2 separate regions of the Homo sapiens genome follow, and region 2 is linked to region 1. Evidence: promoter capture Hi-C in human tissues and cell types (Jung and others, 2019). All regions are on one chromosome and are shown on one strand. The core of a region is centred on a gene start or on the middle of the fragment in contact, and the rest is flanking DNA. Distances in the headings are between cores, read along the strand shown. Region 1 holds the start of MC2R (melanocortin 2 receptor). Region 2 has its middle 150 kb from the start of ZNF519.

Region 1 (6,174 bases), core at 1,379-3,878:
ATATATACAATATTTATTTAAAATTTAAATGTAAATGTTTCATAAGAGCTTGTCCATGCTTGCTGTCTCCTCTCCTCACTTCCCATTTCCTCCTCAAGCAGCTCCCACCAGGCACCCACCTCTACCACTGTCCCGTCTCCCCTCTGGCCCCTACAACCCGTGGAGAGGATCCTTTAAAGCCTGAATCAGGTCATGTCATCCTAGTCCTGACTCCTCATCGTTCTTACAGGAAAGTCTTAAGTGCTATCATGGCCTCTGTAGAGCCACTGAACTTCTCAGATCCCCATCTATAAATGGGGTCTGTAAGGTGACTTCACACATGTGCTGAGAAGATTAAATGTCGAGATATGTACAGCACTGAGAACATTCATCATGGCTGGCACATAGGAAACCCACTGTGGATTCTTACCATTGCTTCCACTGCAGATTTCAGCAAAGACATTTGTGAGTTACCTTCCAACCCCAGCATTTTCTATGTCAGAATGGGGCAGTCCTGCAAACACAAAAGACAGATCCCCGGCCCTGTCTCTTCTTCCTGTCCCCTTCTGTTTCCCCATTGCATCTCCTTTCCCCTTGCTCTGCCTCCCAAGCCTCCCCCACCCTCTCACTCTTTCTCTCTCTCTGCCTCTTTAGCTTTTCCATGAGAGGGACAAGCACTGGGGAGGAAGTTGTATTTGTGAAAGTGACCGAGTTGTATACGATTGTGTGAGAAGAGAAGAAAGGGTGCATACAGAAGCCCTTTGAATGCTCCCTAAAATTCCCCTTTTCCATCGTATCTCTTGGGATGAGAGAGAGACTGGGCTGGTGACGGAATGGTGGCGCAGTTGTAACATGGTCATCAGAGTTCATCTACCAGCATCTCCACTTACAAGTTTGCTTTCCAATGATCACCAGCTGAATGGGTTTCCCTACAGCAAAGATATTTCTTTTAAAATACCACTATTTCAAGAGTGTTTGGACAGGGTTATAACAAAAACCATAGGTATTGGCATATGGTTTTAGATTTCCCTGAGCACTGTTACAAACCTAGTCTGAATTCTCACAACAGCCCGCTTTACACCAGGCAATGGAGTCCTAGAGGCCTGGCACTCAGAACTCTGACCGCGTGTCTTCTGGTTCTAAACTCTGTCATTTCTACTCTGCTCCTTCCAAGAGATTTTTGCCCCCTTTTCTCTAAAAATTGGAGAGAGATGAGCCCCCAAAATGGAAGAACTAAAATAGCAATAGCTACTCTCTTTGCAGGGCTTAGCCAAACCCCTAGGCAACCTTCCCCCTGCTGGAAGTCTCTCCCTGTCCCTCCCAATCAGAGTGGCCCAGGTCCCACCCAGGGGACTGGCCGAGGCTCGCCTCCTCCAGACAGTGTTCCCATTGTCTGCAGCCTGCCTGATGTCCCACTCCCCAGGGCTGGCCACCGGTTTTCCCAATCAGCTAATCAGATCCACAGATCTCTGACAAAGGGCCTCTGCTTCTGCAAGTACAAGGGCTAAGGACGAGTTGTCTCTACTTTTCCAGATAATACAGTAGCTTTCTGGAGGCAATGCCTTGCTTTTCTCTGTTATCTCAACTACATGACTGAAGAGGGAAAGAGGCCTGTGGAACGCCGGGTTTCAGCTGCAGGGCATGTTGCGGAGGCACACACCTACTCAGAAACAGTCGAAGTCTGGGATGATCCTGGGTCCATGAGTTCCTGGGGACAACACGCTTTGCCTCAGTGACAGGCCAGGAAAAGCCACTTTATAAAATTGTGTTTACCCGCCTGGCAAATTCAACTCAGGTCTCTCTCTTTGGTCTTTTCCAGACCACCCACGTGTGAACACTTTTTAGCTTGGGGCGGAAGCTCACATTTCAGAAACAGCCACTGGTTTGGCCCCAGCCCCAAAAACCCAGGACCATCTGGAAACTTGGCCCAATTCCACACTTCAACATTCCTGTTGCTGTGACTGACACCAACAGTAGCCCTTCCCTGCAGGCCCCGGCAGGCAGAAAACACACAGCATTGCACCCTAAAATGGAAGAATTTTGCTTTGAATGATGGCTCTTATCTATGGCGGTTTCTGTGAAGTTTTTGGACGGAGAAGCATTGGCAGAACACAGGGTTTTTTTCTTGTCTGGACCCATGCGTCATATGTGCACTTGAGCACACAGTTCCCTCACTCTCATTGTTTAGTCTTGTGAAATAGGGATAATGGGGCTATTCCCTTCTTCTTAATGAAACTAATGAGCCAAATATTTGCAAGATATATCAAGAAGTTTGCTAGAAGTTTTAAAACAAATTCTTCCAAAACCATTTTCTCAAAAACCTGATTTATTTAATTCCTTAGTTCTTTTTGGAAATAAATGCAACTCTAAAGTGGCATTTAAAAAGAGCAAGATGACAATTCCATAATCTGCTAGAAACATTGTCATAAACATTGGAAGTAACCTTGACTAGCTGAGCTCATGGAAATTATGTCTTCATCTGCCTGTGTCTTTCCATTTCTCTAACTTCACATTACCAGAAATGCACAGTTCATGTGGGATGACATTTATTCAAGGTAATGATAACAATCTAGCTGTATCTCCGGTGATGCATGTGTTCCGGCCCTTCCCGGCCCAAGGTCCACTTGCTTGCTTTTCTCTCCGAGCTCATTCCTTCTCATTCATTTTGCCCAGAAAGTTCCTGCTTCAGAGCTGAAGGTAAGTACATTTTCCACTAATTCCTCAGCTTGCTAAGTGCTTTTGGACCATGAATAGAGCAGCTAGGAACAAATCTGAGAAGAGGTACTATTCAGAATTCCTCCAAATAGCTCATCTTTTTAATTATGGGCTTTCATCCTTCCTAAGGGAGTTTATTATTTTTCTAATTAAACTACTACAATGAAGGCTATTACCTTTTTGTCTAGCTAAAACAATCTTCCCTATTAATGAATTTATTGGCTTCTCTAGTACTCTTCAAATTGTCATTGAGCTCTATTCAAGGACTACAGCCAGTTTTTTCCTAATAGAATTAGGGGTGAAACAAATCATGCTTCTATTATCACTTCTGGAGTTAGCCCCTTCACCTGATCAGCTTGTCTAGGTGTAAGAGTGCGGGGGTTTTAGCGCCACAAAGACGTGGGCATGCGGCAGCTTCCTGAACCTCAGGCATTGGTGTCTAAGCAACTCCACCATCCACACGTGTGACGTTACAGTTCTGGGAGATGCACGCACACTTTCTGTGCCTTTCTCAACCACTAGCTCAGTCAGCCTCCACCTTCCTAGGCAGCAACACGGGGTGCAGGATAAACAATAACTAAAAGCATACTGATTATCACATACTCCTGCAAAGTGTTTGCACCCAGAAAGCATGCAGTCACTGCCATCATGAGGGGCTCACACCTTCCTTTGGCTGGCTCTGTCGGGGGGCACATGTTACCTAGAAAAGAGGCCCAGGCATTCGATTAAACAGCTCTTCTTCATATTTCAGTTTGTCTAAGCTGCCTTCAGATAACTGTCCCCATTCTTCACTTACACACACACACTCATACACACACATATACACACATACACGTGCACACTTGTAAACATACATACATACATGCATGCAAAAAGTCCAAAAGGGATAGGAATGGGAAAGGGGTACAAAGGGGTCCAGAGAGTACAGCCTTGAGCAGATCAGAAGGAGGAGTGCTCCTCACATGCCCTCCCCACCCCATCCCCGGAGTGGGAGTGAAGCGGTGGTCACAGGCTCTGCTCACACATTCATGCCTAGATCAAGCTGTACCGAACCCTTATGTGCTGGGCCTTGTTGCAAGCCTAAGTCAGAGTGGAGCCTCCTGGAGCCCCGGCGCTGAGGACAGCGCACACTGAGACAACACTTCACACTAGCTCCCAGACAGGACACACACCCACAAAGAGCTGTGGGAGCAGGGAGACGGGAGCCCTCACCCTGCCTTTGGGACACCGCTTAGGCCGCGGCAGGGGTGGAGGAGGGCATGAACCAGGGTAATGGGGTAGATAAGCTCCAAAGCCATCCTGACTTCTCAGTGGATCCTGAATCTCTGGCAGAGGAGGTTTTTGCTCAGCAGCAAATTGCCCTCTCACTGCCTCAGAGCAACTTAAGACATCTTAAAAAAAAAAAAAAATCCTATTCTTTACCTTGTTAATGATCCCAGGTATGTTTCCTATGGAATCCTTAGTGTCTAATACATTTTAATGAGAGCTTTCTTGTCTGTGTAAGCCACATTCCTTGCCTTCATTAGGCAAATATAATTGCTGTGGGCCAGGTTGTCTGCAGGGCTCAGCCTCAGACATGGTCAGGGCAGGTCTTATCCTAAGGAACTCAGATCCATCTGCAGGGTTTTCATGTGAATAATGCCGTTGTAGAAATAAGAACAAACAGCTACAGGTGCATAGACGGGCAGCAATCCTGGGCTCCCTTGGGATGCGGGGGCAGTGGAAGAGAGTCTGTACTTGGGCAAGGACACAGTGCTGAGTGTGAGAAGTGAGGAAGGACGTGTCCAGGCCCAGGGAGAGAGAACGTGTGAACAGACAGGCAAGCGCTGGTGCAGACCCACCCAGTGGGCCTTAAAGTGTGGTGGAGTCCTAAAGTCTTAACTTCTCTGTTCTCTGACTATGAGCCGCCAGGGTACAAAATTTGGAAGATGGTTTTAAAGTAAGTTCTCAACTCAAAATATGCGTGTGCCAAGCGCTGTGCTAGCAGCATGGGTAACGCACAGAGCCTGACTTGGTGGGAGAACAACATGTGCAAACTACAGAGACTAATCAACCTAGTAGGTGTCCCAGCATCAAAACCTGGGGGCAGCAAGCGTTTGTGTGAGCAGCACAGCCGTGGCAGGGAAAGGTCCGAGTGGGTCACACTGGCAGGAAGGCACCGTGGAGGAAGCCTGCCATGAGCAGTGAAGCTCAGAGGACGGGAGATGTGAGCGGGTGGAAGGTGGTGGTCCAGGTGAGGCTGTGCAGGGAGCTGAGCATCACACTGATTTCCAACCAGAACACTCCAGCCTGGGCTTCATGCCTCCCTAGCTGTGAGCTCCTGCAAAAGCTTCCATTCTCGGGACTTTCCTTCGCTCGTCCTAAGATGTGATCACATTGTCATTCATGCCTAATTTCCAGTCTTGTGTATATTAAAAAAGAAATTATACTGTAAGCAGCAGTTCTCTGTGAAGTGTCGGAAAAGCTGTAAACCTGCCCAGCGGCCTGCAAGATGATCACACCGAGAGATGCTTCTGCCTGTGCCCGGCATGGGGAAAAAGAATAAAGCCACCCCCAAAATAAGGCTCCCTTGAAGGCCTCTCATAATTGAGCCTATGCGGAATTCAAAACAAGATGTGCGCTGGATTCAGATGAGCCATTGCCTACCATAGCGAGCTCTGCTGGCTGCAGCCAGTCTTCACAGTGATAAGCGTAACTTATAACTCTGTAAGATCAACATCAGTAAGTTCAAGGAAAACTGACTTCAGCTGGAGACAGTGACTGGGCCCTAGCAAAGCAGTTGGGATGGTCCGGGAGCAGAAAACAACGTAGAAATTCATCTGTCCTTGAATTTTTCCTATTTCAACAGAGTATTGATTAATTGATTAATAATAATCTACAAGTTTTATTATGGTGCTATGTTGTTATTTTGTTTTATTTAGCACCAAAACAGCCTCAGAGTCCTGAGCCCCTCAGTTCCCAGCTCCTCCCACAGCTCTTGGCCCAACCTGACCCGGTCCTCCTACCCATACCTGTTTCAGAGCTAGGCTTGTCCTGCTTCCAAACACTCAGCCTCTCAGGCTCTTTGGAATAACCAAGCGAGCACAGACCTTGGAATGAGGCAGATTCGCAGCTGGGTGACCTTAAGCAAGTAACCCAACCTCCCTGAGCCTCCGTTTTCTTATCTATAATATAGGCAGGGGAGCAGGAAATAGGAACACCTACCCTTTATGTGTAACTGGAGCATTAAGAGAGAATACCTTTCACTCTGCCCTGTCTCCAACCTTTAACATTGCAAGAGAAACCATGGCAAAATCAAATTGCCCTTAAAGTGCAGAATTGTAAGGATGTGCTGAGGTATCCTGGAATCTGCTGTTTTACCTGGTTGAGTATTAAGTAAAATTGCTGAACATGCATTGTGGGCCCAACACAGTACAGAATGAATTACCTAAAGCACTCGTAAGTGAAGCCAATTCTTTTCCATGCCATCCACACCATGGA
Region 2 (6,174 bases), core at 1,669-4,168, 370 kb before region 1:
GCTCCCAAGGCCTTGGGCAGCTCTGCACCTGTGGCTTTGCAAGGTCTAACCTCCACAGTGGCTCTCATGGGCTGGGCTGGTGTTGAGTACCTGCAGCTTTTCCACAATGAGGGTGCAAGCTGTTAGAGAGTCTGAATCTGGCATTTGCAGAATGGTGCCTCCCTGTATGGGAGTTCCAACCCTATATGTTCCTTCTGTACTGCCCTAGTAAAGGAGGCTCTGCGTCTTGGAAAATTTTGACCTGGACACCCAGGTTTTTCCATATGTACTCTGGAGTCTAGACAAAGGATCCCCAGCCTCCAGTTTTGTGCTCTGCACACCTACTGGCTTAACACTACGTGGAAGCACCAAAGCCTGCAACTTGCTCCCTCTGAAGCTGTGACCCAAGCTGTACCTGTGCATCTTTCAGCCATGGCTGGAGCTGGAGCTTCAGGAATTCAGCCAGCAGTGTCCTGAGGATGGACACAGCAGCTGGGCCATGGTGCTGGAGAAGGAAACCATTCTTTTCTCCCAGGCCTCAGGGCCTGTGATAGCAAGGGCTGCTACAAAAGTCTCTGAAATGCCTTCAGGGCCTTTTTAACACTGTATTGGCTATTAGCACTGAACTCCATTTTATGCAAATTTCTGAAGACTTCTTGAACTTTCTCACTGACAATCAGCTTTTCTTTTTTTTTGACCACTTGTCCAGGCTGCAAATTTTCCAAACTTTTAAATATGTTTCACCATGAGGTCATTTCTCTGGTCACATATACGACCACAGGCTGTTCGACACAGACAGGACACCTCTTAAGCTTTGCTGCCTAAAATTTCCTTCCACCAGATACACTCTAAATTATCACCCTGATGTTCAAAATTTCACACGTCTCCACGTTAAGGGCATCGTGCAGCAACGTTCTTTGCTAAGGAAAAAACAAAAGTGACCTTGGCTCCAGTTCCCAGCAAGCTCCTCATTTTCATGTGAGACCTTCTAAGCCTGGTGATCACTGTCCATCCTTCTGTCACCTTTTTAATTACAACTATTTGACAAGTCTCTACACTGATCCAAACTTTTCCTCATCTTCCTGTCTTCTTCCAAGACCTCCAAACCCTCCAACCTCTGGCCATTACACACTTCTCAACCTGCTTCTACATTTTCAGCTACATTTGTCACAGCCTGGCAATGTGGTAAAAGAAGAAAAGTCCATTTCAGGAGAAAAACTAATGCAGACTTCAGACATTTCTGTGAAAAGAAGCTGAGTGCTGATTACCAAGACAATAAGGAAAAGGCCTTGAAGGCATTTCATAGCTCCACTTCACAGCACTAAATTTCTGTATAATCAGAAAGAAAAAAGGTTGGACTAGATCATGGTTCTGTAAGCTTTAAATAATTCCTAGAGGCTTCTGCCTCTGGGAGGACTCAGGAAGCCTCCCAATCATACCAGAAGACCAAGCAGTAATGGGATGTTTTATATGGCAGAAGTAGAAACAAGACAGAGAGAGGAAAAAGGTGCCACATGTTGTATAAACCTGTTATACAACCAGATTTCCTGAGAACTCACTATCACAAGGTCAGCATCAAGAAGATGTTGCTTAACCATTGGTGAAAGATCTGCCCCCTACCATCCCCACCCCCCACTGTTTCCAGGCAGAAGCCTCAGGCAGAGGCAGAGCCACTAGGAAAACCTCTGCTACGGCAGTGCAGAAAAAATATATGGGCCTGGAGGCCCCACACAGGAGGTCACCAACCTCCAGACCCCAGATTCATAGACCCACCAGCAGCTTGTACTCTCAGTATGGAAAAGCTACAGGCACTCAACACCAGCCCAACCCATGAGAGCAAACATGGGGGCTAAAGCCTTCAAAGCCACAGGTGCACTGCCCTTGTTTAGAGGTTTTCCATGAGCTCTGCCTCGGCAGCAGGCTACTCCCCCTTCCTACGGTCCACCACCCTCTCACCACGCTACTGCCAGCCTATTCCTCCCCACCCTACCCACTTGTTTTCTCTTCACCCCTACCACTCTGCCCTTTGTGGTTAAATCGCCTCCCACTAGGCCCCACCTACAACAGTCAGGATTACAATTCCCCATGAGATTTGTAGGGAAACACAGCCAAACCATATTACTCTGACCCTGACACCCCCACATCTCATGTCCTTCTCACACAAAAAAATACAAACATGCATTTTCAAAAGTTTCAAAATGTCTTAACTCACTCCAGCAGTAACTCAAATGTAGTAAATTCAAGTCTCAACCAAGAGAAGGCTGCAATCTCTTCTGCCTATGAGTTCCTGAATGTAAAAGACAATTCTTTTCTTTCAAGTTACAATGATGGCACAGGCACTGGGTAAGCTTTCTCAAACCAAAGGGAAGATTTTCCCAGAAAAATAACACAAATGGGACACAGGCCCAATCCGAGTCCAAAACCCAGCAGGACAGCATTCATTTATCATGAGAACTCACTATCACACAGACTGCATTAAGGAGATAGTATTTAACCATTTGTGAAGGATCTACCACCCATCCCCATGTTTCACCCTCACCCACACCATGAACCTCCATTCTCCCACATCTGCCTTCCAATCCTCATTCTCTACCATGATTAAATCACCTTCTACCAAGCCCCACATTTAACATTCCCCATTACAATCCCACATGTGTTTTGGTAGGGACACAGAGCCAAATCATATTATTCTCCCTTTGGCCCCCCAATCTCATATCCTTCTCATACTGCAAAATACAATGATGCATTCTCTACAGTCCCCCAATGTCTGAACTCATTCCAGCATTTACTCAAATGTCCATTTGTGAAGGATCGGCCCCCACCCCTGCCTTTCACCCCCAACCCCACCACAATTGCCCCAAGCCTTCCCACCCCCCAATCCCCCACCTCCCCACCACCACAATCCCCCTAACCCACCCCACCCCACAATCCCCCCAACACTCCCCACCCTCCCAACCATCCAACCTCCACTCTCCACCATGATTAAATCACCTTCCACCAGCCCCCACCTTTAGCATTTCCCATTAAAATTCCACATGAGTTTTGGTAGAGACACAGAGCCAAAACATATTATTCTGTCCCTGGTCCCCCAAAGTTCATGTCTTTCTCACATTGCAAAATGCAATGATGCCTTCCCTACAGTCCCCCAAGTCTTAACTCATCCCAGCATTTACTCAAATATCCAAAGCCCAAAGTCTCTTCTGAGACAAGGCTGCCATATCTTTTGCCCCGAGCCTCTGAAATACAAAGCAAGTTAACCACTTCCAAGGTACAATGGTTGTACAGGTATTGGGTAAGCATTCCCAGCCAAAAAGAAGAAATTTGCCAGAAAGAAGCACAAAACACAGATGGGACTTAGAAACTCCCTGCAAGTCAAACACCCAGCAGGCCAGTCATTCCATCATATAGCTCCAAATCATCTTTTTGGAATCTATGTCCACATCCAGAGCACAGGGTGGTGTGACAGCTGGGATCCCAAGGCCTTGGGCAGCTCTGCCCCTGTGGCATTGCAGAATCTTTCCCCCACAGCTGCCCTCATTGGCTAGCCTGGTGTTGAATGCCTGTAGCTTTTCAACACTGAGGGTGCAAGCAGTTGGTGGGTCTATGAAACTGGGGTCTGGAAAATGGTGCCTCCCTGTATGGGGACTCCAACCCTATATTCTTCTGTACTGCCCCAGTAGAGTTTTACCATGAGGCTCTGCCTCTTGGAAAAGCTTCTGGCTGGACACTCAGGCTTTCCAATATATCCTCTGCAGTCTAGATGAAGGCTCTGAAGCTTCTAGTCCCTGCTTTATGCACCTGCTGGCTTGACACTATGTGGAAGCCACCAAGGCTTGGAGCTTGCATCCTCTGAAGCAGTGACACAAGCTGTACCTGTGCATCTTTCATCCATAGCTGGAGCTGGAGATGGAGCTGCAGGGATGCAGGCAGCAGTGTCCTGAGGCTGTACACAGCAGTGGAGCCATGGGGCTGGGCCAGGAAACTATTCTTTTCTCCTAAGCCCTAGGGCCCTTGACAACAAGGTCTTCTACAAAGGTCTCTGAAATGCCTTCAAGGCCTTTTTCCCATTGTTTTGAATCATTAGCACTGGGATCCTTTTTATGCAAATATCCGAGGCCTTCTTGATTTTCCCCTGAAAATCAGCTTTTCTTTTTGACCAGATTACAAATTTCCCAAATGTTGAATCTCTGCTTCTCATTTAAATATAAGTTCCAACTTATGGTCATTTCTTTGATCACACATAGGAGCACAGGCTGTTCGATGTAGGCAGCACAGCTCTTGAGGTTTGCTGCTTAGAAGTTCATTCCACCAGATACACCCTAAATCATCATCCTCAAGTTCAGTTTCACAGATCTCCTGGGAAGGGTCACTGTGTAGCCAATTACTTTGCTAAGGCAAAACAAAAAAACCTTGGCTCCTCTTCCCAGTAAGTTCCTCATTTTCATCTGAGACCTTACAAACCTGGCCTTCACTGTCCATCCTTCTGTCAGCCTTTTAATCACAACTATTTAACAAGTCTCTGCAACGGTCCAAACTTTCCCTCATCTTCCTGTCTTCTTCCAAGCTCTCCAAACTCTCGAACCTCTGGCCATTACCCAATTTGGAATCTGCTTCTACACTGTCAGCTATCTTTGTTGCAGCCTGGCAATGTGGTAAAAGAAGAAAAGTCCATTATCAGGGGGAAACATCAAGATGGCCTCCAATATCTGCATTGAAAAAAGCTCAGTGCTAATAGCCAAGAGATTGGGGGAAAGGCCTAGAATTCATTTCATAGCTTTACTTCACAGCATTAATTTTCTGTATCTACATAAAGAAAAGAGGTGTAATTGACTCACAGTTCTTCAGGCTGTAAAGAAAGCATAGTGGTTTTTGCTTATAGGAGGACTCAGGAAGCCTCCCAATTATACCAGAAGGCCAAGCAGCAGTGAAATGTTTCATATGGCAGGAGTAGAAGCAAGACAGAGAGAGGAAAGAGGTGCGACATCCTGTTATACAACTAGATCTCATGAGAGCTCAGTATCAGGAGATCAGCATCAAGAAGATGGTGCTTCACTGTTGGTGAAGGATCCGCCCACTATCCCATATCCACCACCCACTGTTTCCAAGCAGAAGCCTGAGGCAGAGGCAGATCCTCTTGGAAAACCTCTACTAGGACAGTGCAGCAGGAAAATGTGGGCTTGGAGCCCCCATGCCACCATCCTCCAGACCCAAGAGTCATAGACCCACCAACAGCTCACACCCCCAATATGGAAAAGCTACAGGCACTCAACATCAGCCCAGCTCATGAGAGCAGCTACAGGTGCTAAACCCTGCAAAGCCACAGGTGCACTGCCTCAGTAGAGTTTTTCCATGAGCCTCTGCCTCTGCGGCATGCTACTCCCCTTCTGCTACACGCCACCCTACAGCCAGCTTACCCTCCCCACCTTACCCACCAGTTTTTAATTCCAACCCCACCCGTCTCCCATCCATGAATAAATCACCTCCCACCACGCCCCACCTGCAACATTCGGGATTACAATTACATGTGAGTTTAGGTAGGGACACACAGCTAAACCATATTATTCTGACCCTGATCCCCCGAATATCACATCCTTCTCACAGAGTAAAATACAGTCATGCCTTTGCAAAAGCTGCTGAAAGTCTTAAGTCATTTCAGCATTAATTCAAATGTAAAAAGTTCAACATCTCACGTGAGAAAAGGCTACAGTTCCTTTTGCCTATAAGTTCCTGAATTTAAAAGGGAGTTCTTTTCTTTCAAGGTACAATGATGGTACAGGCATTGTGTAAGCTTTCTCAATCCAAAGGTGAGATGTTTGCCAGGAAAACAACACAAATGGGATCACAGGGCCAATGCAAGTCCAAAACCCAGGAGGCCAGTATCCATTCACTCTCATGGCTCCAAAATCATCACGAGAACTCACCATCATGAGGAAAGGATTAAGGAGATGGTGTTTAACTATCTGTGAGGGATCCTCCCCCCACCCCCACTTTTCACCCCTCACCCCCACCATAAACCACCCATTCTCCAAAATCCCCACTTTCCAACACCCAGTGCCCTCCACGATTAAATCACCTTCCACCTGGTCCCACTTTTAACATTTCTGATTACAATGCCACATGAGTTTCCACAGGGACACACAGCCAAATCTTATTATTCTGTCCCTGCCCCACAAATCTCATGTCCTTCTCACTTTG

The links. The method cuts DNA at HindIII sites, captures the fragments that hold promoters and counts their contacts. A contact is called where the count stands out against the background at its distance.
Region 2: a contact is called between a fragment that was not itself captured here and the fragment with the promoter of MC2R in region 1, in 2 of the 25 tissues and cell types used here (lymphoblastoid cells and spleen).

What each region holds. Positions count from the first base shown.
Region 1 is chr18:13,911,990-13,918,163 of GRCh38, reverse strand. It overlaps MC2R (melanocortin 2 receptor), which reads left to right and starts at 2,628. Exons shown (of 2, transcript NM_000529.2): 1 at 2,628-2,676. The HindIII fragment of the contact is 21,573 bases long and covers 1-6,174 here.
Region 2 is chr18:14,281,043-14,287,216 of GRCh38, reverse strand. No RefSeq gene overlaps it. Among named protein-coding and RNA genes, the nearest start is that of ZNF519, 150 kb to the right of the region's middle. The HindIII fragment of the contact is 3,687 bases long and covers 1,075-4,761 here.